Linked DNA regions of Homo sapiens: all the other regions are linked to region 3. Evidence: promoter capture Hi-C in human tissues and cell types (Jung and others, 2019). All regions are on one chromosome and are shown on one strand. The core of a region is centred on a gene start or on the middle of the fragment in contact, and the rest is flanking DNA. Distances in the headings are between cores, read along the strand shown.

Region 1 (3,917 bases), core at 454-2,953, 42 kb before region 3:
ACTCACTTCACCTATAAATACACACAAGACTGAAAGTGAAAAAATGGAAAAAGATACACACAAGACTGAAAGTGAAAAAATGGAAAAAGATATTTCGATGAAAAATGGAATAGCTATACTTATATTAGATAAAAACCAGGTCTGGGCATGGTGGCTCAAGCCTGTAATCCCAGCACTTTGGGAGGGCAAGGTGGGTGGATCACCTGAGGTCAGGAGTCTGGCCAACATGGTGAAATCCCGTCTCTACTGAAAATATAAGAAAATTAGCTGGGCATGGTGGCACGCACCTGTAATCCCAGCTACTTGGGAGGCTGAGGCAGGAGAATCACTTGAACCCAGGAGGCAGAGGCTGCAGTGAGCCAAGATGGTGCCACTGCGCTCCAGCCTGGGTGACAGAGCAAGACTCCATCTCAAAAAAAAAAAAAAAAAAAAAAAGGAATAGCTGTACTTATATTAGACAAGAAACCAAAAATGAGCAGGATATCTATACTAAAATAGACTTTAAGTAAGAATGGCAAAAAAAAAAAAAAAGGCAAAGAAGGCCATTATGTATTTATAAATGAGTCAATAGAGCAAGAGGGTATAAAAATGATAAATACATATATGCCCAACACTGGACATCTAAATATAGAAAGCAAATATATTAATAGACCTAAAGGGAGAGATTGACTGCGATGCCATAATAGTAGGATATTTCAATGGCTCACTTTCAGCAATGGAAAGGTCATCCAGACAGAAAATCAACAAGGAAACATTAGAGTTAAACTACACTATAGACCAAATGGACCCAATGGACATTTACAGAACATTTTATCCAATAGATGCAGAATACACATTCTTATTAGCATATGGAACATTCTCCAGGATAGACCATATGTTAAGCCACAAGACAAGCCACAAAATATTTTTTAAAATCAAGATCATATCAAGTATCTTTTCTGACCACAATGGAATAAAATTAGATATCAATAAGAGAGGAACTTTGGAAACTGTACAAATGCACGTACATTTTACAACATGCTGCTCAATGACCAAAGGGTCAGTGAAGAAATTGAGAAGAAAGTTTAAATATTTATTAAAACAAATGAAAATGAAACACACCATACCAAAACATATGGGACACAACAAAAGTAGTACCGATAGGGAAGTTTATAGCCATAAACACCTACATCAAGAAAGTCAAAAAATGTCAAATAAACAAACTAATGATATACCTCAAGGAACTAGAAAAGCAAGAACAAAACAAATCCAAAATTAGTACGATGAAAGAAATAATAAAGATTAGAGCAGAAATAAATGAAATTGAGACTAAAATAATATAAAAGATTAACATAACAAAAGTTAGTTTTAAAAAAAGGTAAACAAAATTGACAAGCCTTTAGCTAGATTAAGAAATAGAATCTGAGATTTAGAAAATATGTTACATGTGATACCACAGAATACAAGGAATTATTAGAGACTAGTATGAAAAACTATGTGCCAATAAATTGAAAAACCTAGAGGAAATGAGTAAACTCTTAGACACATACAACCTGCTAAGATTGAACCATGAAAAAATAGAAAACATAAACAGGCCAATAATACATAATGAGATTGAATCAGTAATAAAAAGTCTCCCAATAAGACAAGTCAATGACTGGATGGTTTGACTGTTGAATTCTACCAAACTTGCAAAGAAGAATTAATACCAATTCTTCTCAAACTTTTCCAAAAAACTCCAGAGGAGGGAATTCTTTCTAACTCACTCTACAAGGCCAGCATTACCCTGATACCAAAACCAGAGAAGGACACACACACAAAAGAAAACTACAGACTAATATCCCTGATGACCATAGATGCAAAAATCCTCAACAAAATACTAGCAAACTGAATGCAACAGCACATCAAAAAAATAAAACACCATGGTCAAGTAGGACTTATCTAGGGATGCAAAGATGATTCAACATACACAAATCAACAACTGTGATACGTTGCTTGAACAGAATGAAGGACAGAAACCATATGATTATCTCAATAGATGCAGAAAAAGCATTTGATACAATTCAACATTTCTTATGATAAGAACTCTCAACAAATCAGGTATCAAAGAAATGTACTTCAAAACAATAAAGGCCATATATGACAAACTCACACCTAATGTTATACTGAACAGGGAAAATTTGAAAGCCTTTCCACTAAGATCTGGAACAAGACAAGGATGCCTACTTTAACTACTTTTATTCAACATAGCACTGGAAGTCTAAGGTCAGAGCAATTAGGCAAAAAAAAAAAAGAGAGAAAGAAAGAAAGAGAGAGAAAGAAAGAGAGAAAGAAAAGGAAAGGAAAAGAAAAGGAAAGGAAAGGAAAGCAAAGGAAAGGAAAGAAAAGAAAAGAAAAGAAAAGAAAAGAAATGGGACGCCAAGGTGAGCGGATCACGAGGTCAGGAGATTGAAACCATCTTGGCTAACATGGTGAAACTCTGTCTCTACTAAAAATACAAAAATTAGCCGGGCATGGTGGCAGGCACCTGTAGTCCCAGCTACTCAGGAGGCTGAGGCAGGAGAATGGCGTGAACCTGGGAGGCGGAGGTTGCAGTGAGCCGAGATCGTCCACTGCACTCCAGCCTGGGCGGCAGAGCGAGACTCCGTCTCAAAAAAAAAAAAAAGAAAAGAAAAGGGCATCTAAATTGGAAAAGAGAAAATCAAAATCTTCCTGTTTGCAAACAACTTGATCTCATATTTTAAAAATCCTAAAGACTCCACTAAAAAACTGTTAGAACTGATCGATGAATTCAGTAAAGTTGGATAATACAAAAATCAATGTACAAAAATTAGTAACGGCTGGGAGCAGTGGCTCATGCCTGTAATCCCAGCACTTTGGGAGGCCGAGGCAGGAGATCACCTGAGGTCAGGAGTTGGGGAGCAGCCTGACCAACATAGTGAAACCCTGTCTCTCCTAAAAATACAAAAAATTAACTGGGCATGGTGGTGTGGGCCTGTAGTCCCAGCTACTCGGGAGGCTGAGGCAGTAGAATTGCTTGAACCCAGGAGGTGGAGGTTGCAGTGAGCTGAGATCACACCACTGCACTCCAGCCTGTGCGACACAGTGAGACTTTGTCTTAAAAAAAAAAAAGTAGCATTTCTGTACACTAATAGCAAACAATCTAAAAAAATTAAGAAAGCAATTTTATTTATAATAGCTATAAAAATGCCTAGAAGTAAATTTAACCAAGAAAGTGAAAGATATTTCCAATGAAAACTATAAAACACTGATGAAATAAAGAGGACATAAAAAATGGAAAGACATACTATGTTCAGAGGTTGTAAGAAATAATATTATTAAAATGTCCACACTACCCAAAGTGATCTACAGATTCAATGCAATTCTTATTAAAATACCAGTGACATTCTTCACAGAAATAGAAAAAACAATCCAAAAATGTGTATGGAACCACAAGGAGCCTGAATAGCCAAAGACATCATGAGCAAAAAGAACAAAGCTGGAGGCATCACTCTACCTGACTTCAGAATATTCTACAAGGCTACTAGCATAAAAACAGGCACATAGACCAATGAAACAGAATAGAGAACCCAGAAATAAATTCACCGATTTGCTACCTGATTTTCAACAAAAGTGCCAAGAACATATATTAGGGAAAGGACAGTCTTTTCAATAAATGGTGCTGGGACAATTGAAGAATACTTGGAAGAATAAAACTAGACCACTATCTCTCACCATATACAAAAACCAATTCAAGATAGAGTAAAGAGTTAAATTAAAGACGAGAAACAATGAAACTACTAGAAGAAAACAGGAGAAATGTGTTAGGATGTTAGTCTGGGCAAAGATTTTTATGGATAAGACCTCGAAAGCACAGGCAACAAAAACAAAAACAGACAAATGGGATTATATAAAATTTTTAAAACTTCTGCGCAGCA
Region 2 (3,632 bases), core at 968-3,467, 43 kb after region 3:
GGATTACAGGCATGAGCCACTATGCCCGGCCTTAGACAATCCAATTTTAAACCAGTCCTCATGATGACTTAAAAGTATTTCCTCAGCAAAGCCAAGGACTTGTGGTAATACAAATACATGTGATCAAAATATTTTACTAATTTTGTGCGATCAAAGAAGTTGGAGCATCCATGGTTTAGTACCTAAGCTTTGAAATCTCACATTCTAGTTCTGGCTCTGCTACAAACTTGGTGTGTGACCTTAGTCCAACTATTTAACTTCTCTGATCCACATTTCCAGTCTGTGAAACGGAAATTATAATCATGTCTACTTCGTAGAGTTTTTGTATGTGCAAATGGATATAAACTGCTAAAAGCTGTGTACAGAGCGTGCATTGTATTGTAACCAGTGCTAATTACTGAGGAGTGCTATACTGGTAACTTTTTTTCCCCAAAGTGTGAAGCTTTCCTTTTTAGTCTTGATTCCTGGATAATAGGACATTCTTCACTTGGACTTTCCCTTATGGTCACCTATGATTGTGGCCATTTGAGGCTCATAAATGGAAAGAATGTATATTGTTTTCATTCTGAAGCAAATAAAACTTCTTACATTTCCATGCTCAGAGCTACCTCTTTCTGTTATTGTCTTGGAATTTTTTTCTCCTTAGTGACCTAGTTTTATCTATTCTCTTCAGATCTGCAAAAGCAAATGGCACAGTTGTTAAAGAGGAATTCTCATTCTGTGGTAGTTGAGAGAAATATCTTTATTTTCTAAACAAAGCAGCTGTGGGCTGGGCGCGGTGGCTCACGCCTGTAATCCTAGCACCTTGGGAGGCCAAGGCGGGCGGATCACGAGGTCAGGAGATCGAGACCATCCTGGCTAACACGGTGAAACCCCGTCTCTACTAAAAACACAAAAAATTAGCTGGGCGTGGTGGTGGGCGCCTGTAGTCCCAGCTACTCGGGAGGCTGAGGCAGGTGAATTGCTTGAATCCGGGAGGCGGAGCTTGCAGAGGCGGAGCTTGCAGTGAGTGGAGATCACACCGAAGCACTCCAGCCTGGGTGACAGAGCAAGACTCCGTCTCAAAACAAAAACAAAACACAAAGCAGCTGTTTGTTATATTTTAACTTTTTAACTATTGTGCAGTATTCCACCATACTTTTTAGAGCATTACCGAGGATTGCCCTTCAAAGCATCAAACATAAAAAATTGTTATCCAAAGGAGGACCTCACCTTCCTTACACAGGGTCTGTATTGCACATGGTGGCCAGGGCCCTTGGAGCTGTGCAGCCAGCAGTGGCTCTCCTAAGTCATCTGCAGGGCAGGTGTGCGAGAGGTACATACGGTGGGTTCCCGCCCCAGTCTCTCTGCTTCCTTCTTCCCCAGGTTGGCCAACTCGGGAGCAAGGTCCAGAACTTCCAGCCAGAAGCGCACTTTAGCAGCTGCGAGCTGCATTTGTTCCCTGATTGTCCTGACTCACTCATAATTAAGACACGTGCTGAAAATTCTCTCAGAATTTAAATTTTGCTCATTGAAGTAAAGCTGCTGTTTTCCAGCTTGCTTTTTTTCTTTTCTTTTCTTTTTTTTTAAAATAGGTTTTGTGTTCTAATCAGGGTGCCATGCTGGACCTGAGCCAAACATCCTTTGTTTCACACAATCCTTGTTCTTCTGTGGGCAGGTGGGACATAGTCCCACCCTCCCCTTCTAGTGAGGTAACAACCGTGCTTTTGTTAGCAGTTCTGAGCCCTTCTGCTGCCAGACAAACCCAGTGGCCTGGAATCATGGTAATTTCTTATGAGCCACACAATTATTTATAACCAAGCCATCTCAGATCCTTTCTGGAACAAGTTAGAAACCTATCTATCTATCTATCTATCTATCTATCTATCTATCTATCTATCTAAAATATAAATCTCAGAAACATTTTAATAGTGTAACTTCTTAATAGAACATAATATACAGCAATGTTTTTTCCTCTACAACCAGAACCAGTAAAAAATATATTTACTTGCATTACTTGTTAATTTTCACTCATCTTAAATGTCATTACAATGGATTGAATAAATTGAGATGTTTGAAAATTTTAGTAAATTTTACAAAATAGCATTGTCGCATCAAACAGATATAAATTGAAAGATTATATATTCTGTTTTCTTATAACTTTTTTAGAAGTAATCTTTTATGGATTAAATGAACTAATGACCTATACTAAGTAAATTCTGTTTTTATAAAATTTTTAACTATGGATGATTTTGAACAAATATTCATGCAGATATTTTTTTGGTTCCTAAATGTCATGAATTTATTTTATTTTAATTGTGATAAAAGCACATGACATAAAATTTACCATCTTAACCATTTTTAAATGTACAGTCAGTAGTGTATATTTATTGCACATTGTTGTACAACCAATCTCCAGAAGCTTCCATCTTGCAAAACTGAAAATTATAACTCCACACCCATTATCAACTCCCTATATCCCCCCAGCCTGTGGCAACCACCATTCTACTTTCTATTTTTATGAGTTTTACTTATCTAGTTAAGGAGTTGAGTTATCTAGAGTAGTCCACTTATAAATGTAATCACTCAGTATTTGCCTTTTTGTGATTGGCCCATTTAACTTAGCATAATATACTCATAGTTCATCCATCTTAGCAAGTGTCAGCGTTTTCTTCCTTTGAAAGGATGAATAATATTCATTATTTATTCATCTGTTGATGGTCACTTGGATTGCTTCCATCTTTTGGCTATTGTGAGTAATGCTGCCATGAACATGGGTATGCAAATATCTTTTTGAGACATAACCATTCTACTCTGTTAACTTGGCTGATTTTAACAGATGGGGAAATCAGTAACTAAACGTATAAGACCAGCCTCACTTGGCAGTGTTTGTTCACATGGTGTCATAGGACTATAAACAGAAGCGATGCAGCCTCAGTACAGCTGAGTGAGGGGGCTGGAAAAACCTGAACTTTCCTGTATAATTTGAATTCAAATCTTGATTTTCCTGATTAAATTTTCTGTATAAATTCCTAATAATTTGCACACAGTGAAATTCACCCTTTTTACTGTATAGTTTTGTGAGCTTTGACAAGTGCATACAGTCATGTAATCACAACCACAGTGTAAATATAGAACAGGTTCATTGCCTCCAAAACTTCCTCCATGCCCCTTTGTAGTCATCATCTTCTTCTACCCCACTGCCAGCCTCTGGCAGCTCATCTGTTTTCTATCTCCGTAGTTTTGCCCATCATCATTTGTCTTTCCTTCCATACTTAGCACACGCAGCTTTGCCTGCCACCTTTCTTGTTCTGATACACCTGGCACCCCGGCCATGTTGTGACTTCCCTGAAGATAAAACCTCTGACTTTGAGGTATCAAGTTGGATTAGAAGAGCAGAGTTTGAAGCCAGATAGAGCATTTGAATCCAGCTCATTCAGTTAGCAGCTCTGTGACCTTGTGTTGGCCTCAGAATCTGACACAGAGTAGGGACTGAATAAATGTCTGTTGGATGAACGAACAAACAAATGAATGAATGAATGAATGAATGAATGAATTTAACCTCTTAATGTCCCAGGTCCCTCCTGTGTAAGAGGGAATGGATAGTAGTTGCCTCACCTGACTTCTGTGGGGATCAGTGCCTTGTACAGTGC
Region 3 (3,560 bases), core at 846-3,345:
GGTGTTCTCTTTGCCTAGTAAGTATGGAAAGCTTTTCCCCGTGGAGCATTGTTTTACCCGTATAACCTTACCTTGAGTGAGATATGGTGGGGCCAGACACAGATCAAGAGAGAGAAGCTAGAAAGAGTTTTAGAGCTTTTTATATCCACAGTTTCCTGGAGAGATCACAGCACACCATGCAGGTCCACTCAGGGCCAGGGTCTGTCACAGAGAGAGGGAGAGAGGGGAATTGTGGACAAACATCTTTATCATGGTTTCTGAGGGAAGGAAAGAGTGAAATAAGGCAAGCAGATATAGGATAGGCTAATTTGGATAATTTCAGCGGGTTCTGAAGTACAGGGGCTGTAACTAGTTGTTTGGTGCCTAGCCCTGGACAGGTGTATAGTGTCCCGCGTGTGAGAGCCTGCTAACGGAAGTGGTTGGGGGTATGCAGTTAATAGACTGCTGGAGAAGGGGAACTGACCAGCCTCCAGCCTGAGCCTCAAAACTGGGTCAAGGCAGCATGAAAAAACTGCTACATTACAGCTATTTTATGGGTTCTTTGGAGACCTGAGATATGAGAGCATGTCTCATCTGCAGTCCCTTTGTTGTCCGTGAAGTCTTTCTTCTGACTATATCAGGCACACGCACGCACAGATTCTGCTACATCTGAGAGTACTAAGCTGTCTCCTGCGCTTCTCACATCTGACACTGAATTATACATGACACCATCATCAGCAAAGGACAGGGCGCTGGGAGCACCACGCAGAACCTAAGCTATTGGAGGGTGGGAAAAGCAGCAGCAGAGCCTAGGAGTAGAGGACAAAGCGTTTCCAGTGTAACAGAATAATGTACTATCTGCGGCCGGGACTAGGGTGAGCAGAGTGAGGCGCTCAGTGAGGGTGCAACATTTAAGAGGTGCCATAAAATTCAGCAACTAAAATACATAATAGGTGGCTCACTCCTGTAATCCCAGCACTTTGGGAGGCCAAGGCGGGCGGATCACGAGGTCAGGAGTTTGAGACCAGCCTGGACAACATGGTGAAACCCCGTCTCTACTAAAAATACAAAAATTAGCTGGGCGTGGTGGCGCACTCCTGTAATCTCAGCTACTCATGAGGCTGAGGCAGAAGAATCGCTTGAACCCGGGAGGCGGAGCTTGCAGTGAGCCGAGATCGCGCCACTGCACCCCAGAGCGAGACTCTGTCTCATAAAAAAACAACAACAACAAAAAAAACCACCATAATATTTAATACGGTATTTTAAAAAATACATAAAAACGTTTATATAGGGTGCACAAGTTCCCTTTTGCCTAAGAGTTCAACGTGGCTCAGCGGGGCACTGGTGCTAAGCAGTCGCAGCTTCTAGTCTCCTCCTAGGGCCCGGAGCAGCCCCCAAGGAAAGGCCTTCCCTAGGAAGAAGTAGCCCTTCAGCCCAGCCTAGAAGAAGGAGCTGAATCAAACCAAGGCAGGACGATGAGGCGTGGCGTGTACTGACAGGGAAGAAGAAACAGCAAATATTTGAGTCCAAGATGCCTGGAGGGAAAAGAGCTAGAGGACTATTTGGGGGAATGGTCTTGGCAACACGGTTCTAGGCAGGTACCACGATCATATAGGGACTCTGTAGAATTTTAAGTAGGGAGGCAAGCGCCCAGGTTTGTTTCTTATGCAGAAAGTGCTGAGCAACGGACAGACTGAAGAGGTTAGGTCTGGATCCAGGTAAACCCTTTATGAGGCTAACGCACTAGCTGAATGAGGGATGACAGCATCCCACCTAGACAGGTGCAGACAGATTCCCGAGGTTCAGGTTCGGACTTCAGTTTCTCCGCTGGAACGCTGAGGGTGGGGCAGCACCCGGGTCCCTGCCCTGCAAACGGGGCCGCTGCAGGGTTCCTTTGGCGGGGCCGGTGCCCCGGGGAGCGCGCAGGACGCGCCCGCCTTCAGCCGGGGGCCAGGGCGAGCGGGACGGGGCGGGCCCGCGGGTGCCCTGACCAGCTCACCGCCCAATCGCTGCGGGCCCGCCGAGCCCCGGGGGGCTGGGGCCGCCGCCGCCGCCGCCAGAACGTGCCGCGGCTGCGCCAACGCGCGAACGCCGGGCAGGGCGGCGGGCGCGCTCAGTCTGGCGGCGGCTGCCGTGAGCTGACTGACGTTCCGGGAACGCCGCAGCAGCCCGCGCCGCCCGCAGCCTAGCCGAGCCGCGCCGCCCGGGCCTCGCCCGCCCGCCTGCCCGCCATGGTGTCATGGATCATCTCCAGGCTGGTGGTGTAAGTGGCCTTCTCCCCCGCGCCCCTCCGTCCCCTCCCTCCCCGCCCCCGGCCCCGGGCTGCGCGCGCCCCTACAGCGCCCGGTCCCAGTGGCTCGGGCTATTAATACCCGGCGCAGCTAAATTTAGCAGGTACAGTAGCCGCCGAGGACGCCTGCGGGCGGACGGGCGGCGCAGGACGCGGCTGCTGCCCAGGAGGCAGCCGGCGCCGGCGGCCGCTTGCGGGGGGCTGGGCCGGGACGGCGAGGGCTGGGGCGCTCGGGGGTTCCGTGGGGGCTGCGTCTCGCCGCGCGCTGGCCGCTTTGTTCCTCAGCTCGGTCGATTTGCAGAGGCCCCGAATGGGCGCACCGCGGACACGCGTCTCTCTCCTTTGGCAGAAATGTGAGGTCGCCCGGCGCCGCGCCCCGCCGCCCCAGCTTTTGTCAGGTGGAAAGGACAGCGCAGACGAACCAGGGGCGCTGCCTGGAGGGTCAGCGCGGAACGGGTGGAGAGGCAGAGGCGGGGCTCCCAGTGGGGTTGGAAAAATCCTCCTTTTTAGGTGTCTGCATCGACAGCGGCAAAGGCAGCTGGGACATGGGAAGACGCATGTGAATCTTGGAGTAAACGCCTGGAGCCCCCGGCTCCGACTCCTTTTGCAGGGGATTGAGAGACAGGGGCAGGTACCTCCAGGAATGCACGGGAAATTTTCAAGTGACAGCCACCCGCATGGTGGCGATGACACCTCCCAGGCCTTGCAGGAGAGCGCAGAGTCATCTAGGGTGAGGTCTGTGTGAAGTCATTGGGGGTGGGCGTGGGGGCCGATTTTCTCCTTCAAGCCCCAGGACCTGTAGGCGTTTGAAGAGCTTCCCCGGTGGATTTATTCTCCTTTGGAGATAGACGTGGCTGTTCCAAGTCCCTGTTCTTCCCTAACCATCCTGGCCTGAGTCAGAACAGATTTGCCACCTGCTGTAGCTAGCAGGGGCTGAAATGGGTGTGGGGAGTCTAAGGCGGGGAGGAGGGTGGCAGGCACCTCGGGCTTTTTCTTTGTCTGAGAACACGGGGCTCTGGACCCCAGTGATTGTGCACCATCACTCCCCACGTTTTGAAACACCACCCATCTCCCTTCCCTTCTTTACTGATTTTCCCTTCCGAAGTGGATCTCAGCATTGTCTCCCGCCACCATTCAGGGCTTTCCTCCCAAAGCCAGTGTCTGTGCCTCTCAGCCCCCAAGTCATTCCGTGAAGGCCTCTCCACAGCTGTTCCTGACTGCGGGGTGTTTGCGCTGCACCTTGAGGTGGCATGTTAAATATTTAGAAGATTTCTGCTGGCAGAGCCGACAT

Evidence for each region. The method cuts DNA at HindIII sites, captures the fragments that hold promoters and counts their contacts. A contact is called where the count stands out against the background at its distance.
Region 1: a contact is called between a fragment that was not itself captured here and the fragment with the promoter of REEP1 in region 3, in 1 of the 25 tissues and cell types used here (adrenal gland).
Region 2: a fragment that was not itself captured here is called in contact with the fragment with the promoter of REEP1 in region 3 in 3 of the 25 tissues and cell types used here (bladder, heart right ventricle and neural progenitor cells).

What each region holds. Positions count from the first base shown.
Region 1 is chr2:86,377,071-86,380,987 of GRCh38, reverse strand. No RefSeq gene overlaps it. Among named protein-coding and RNA genes, the nearest start is that of REEP1, 41 kb to the right of the region's middle. The HindIII fragment of the contact is 5,724 bases long and covers 1-3,917 here.
Region 2 is chr2:86,292,974-86,296,605 of GRCh38, reverse strand. All of the region lies in intron 1 of REEP1 (receptor accessory protein 1), which reads left to right. Among named protein-coding and RNA genes, the nearest start is that of REEP1, 43 kb to the left of the region's middle. The HindIII fragment of the contact is 3,803 bases long and covers 316-3,632 here.
Region 3 is chr2:86,336,161-86,339,720 of GRCh38, reverse strand. It overlaps REEP1 (receptor accessory protein 1), which reads left to right and starts at 2,095. Exons shown (of 9, transcript NM_001371279.1): 1 at 2,095-2,242. The coding sequence starts at 2,211. The HindIII fragment of the contact is 14,274 bases long and covers 1-3,560 here.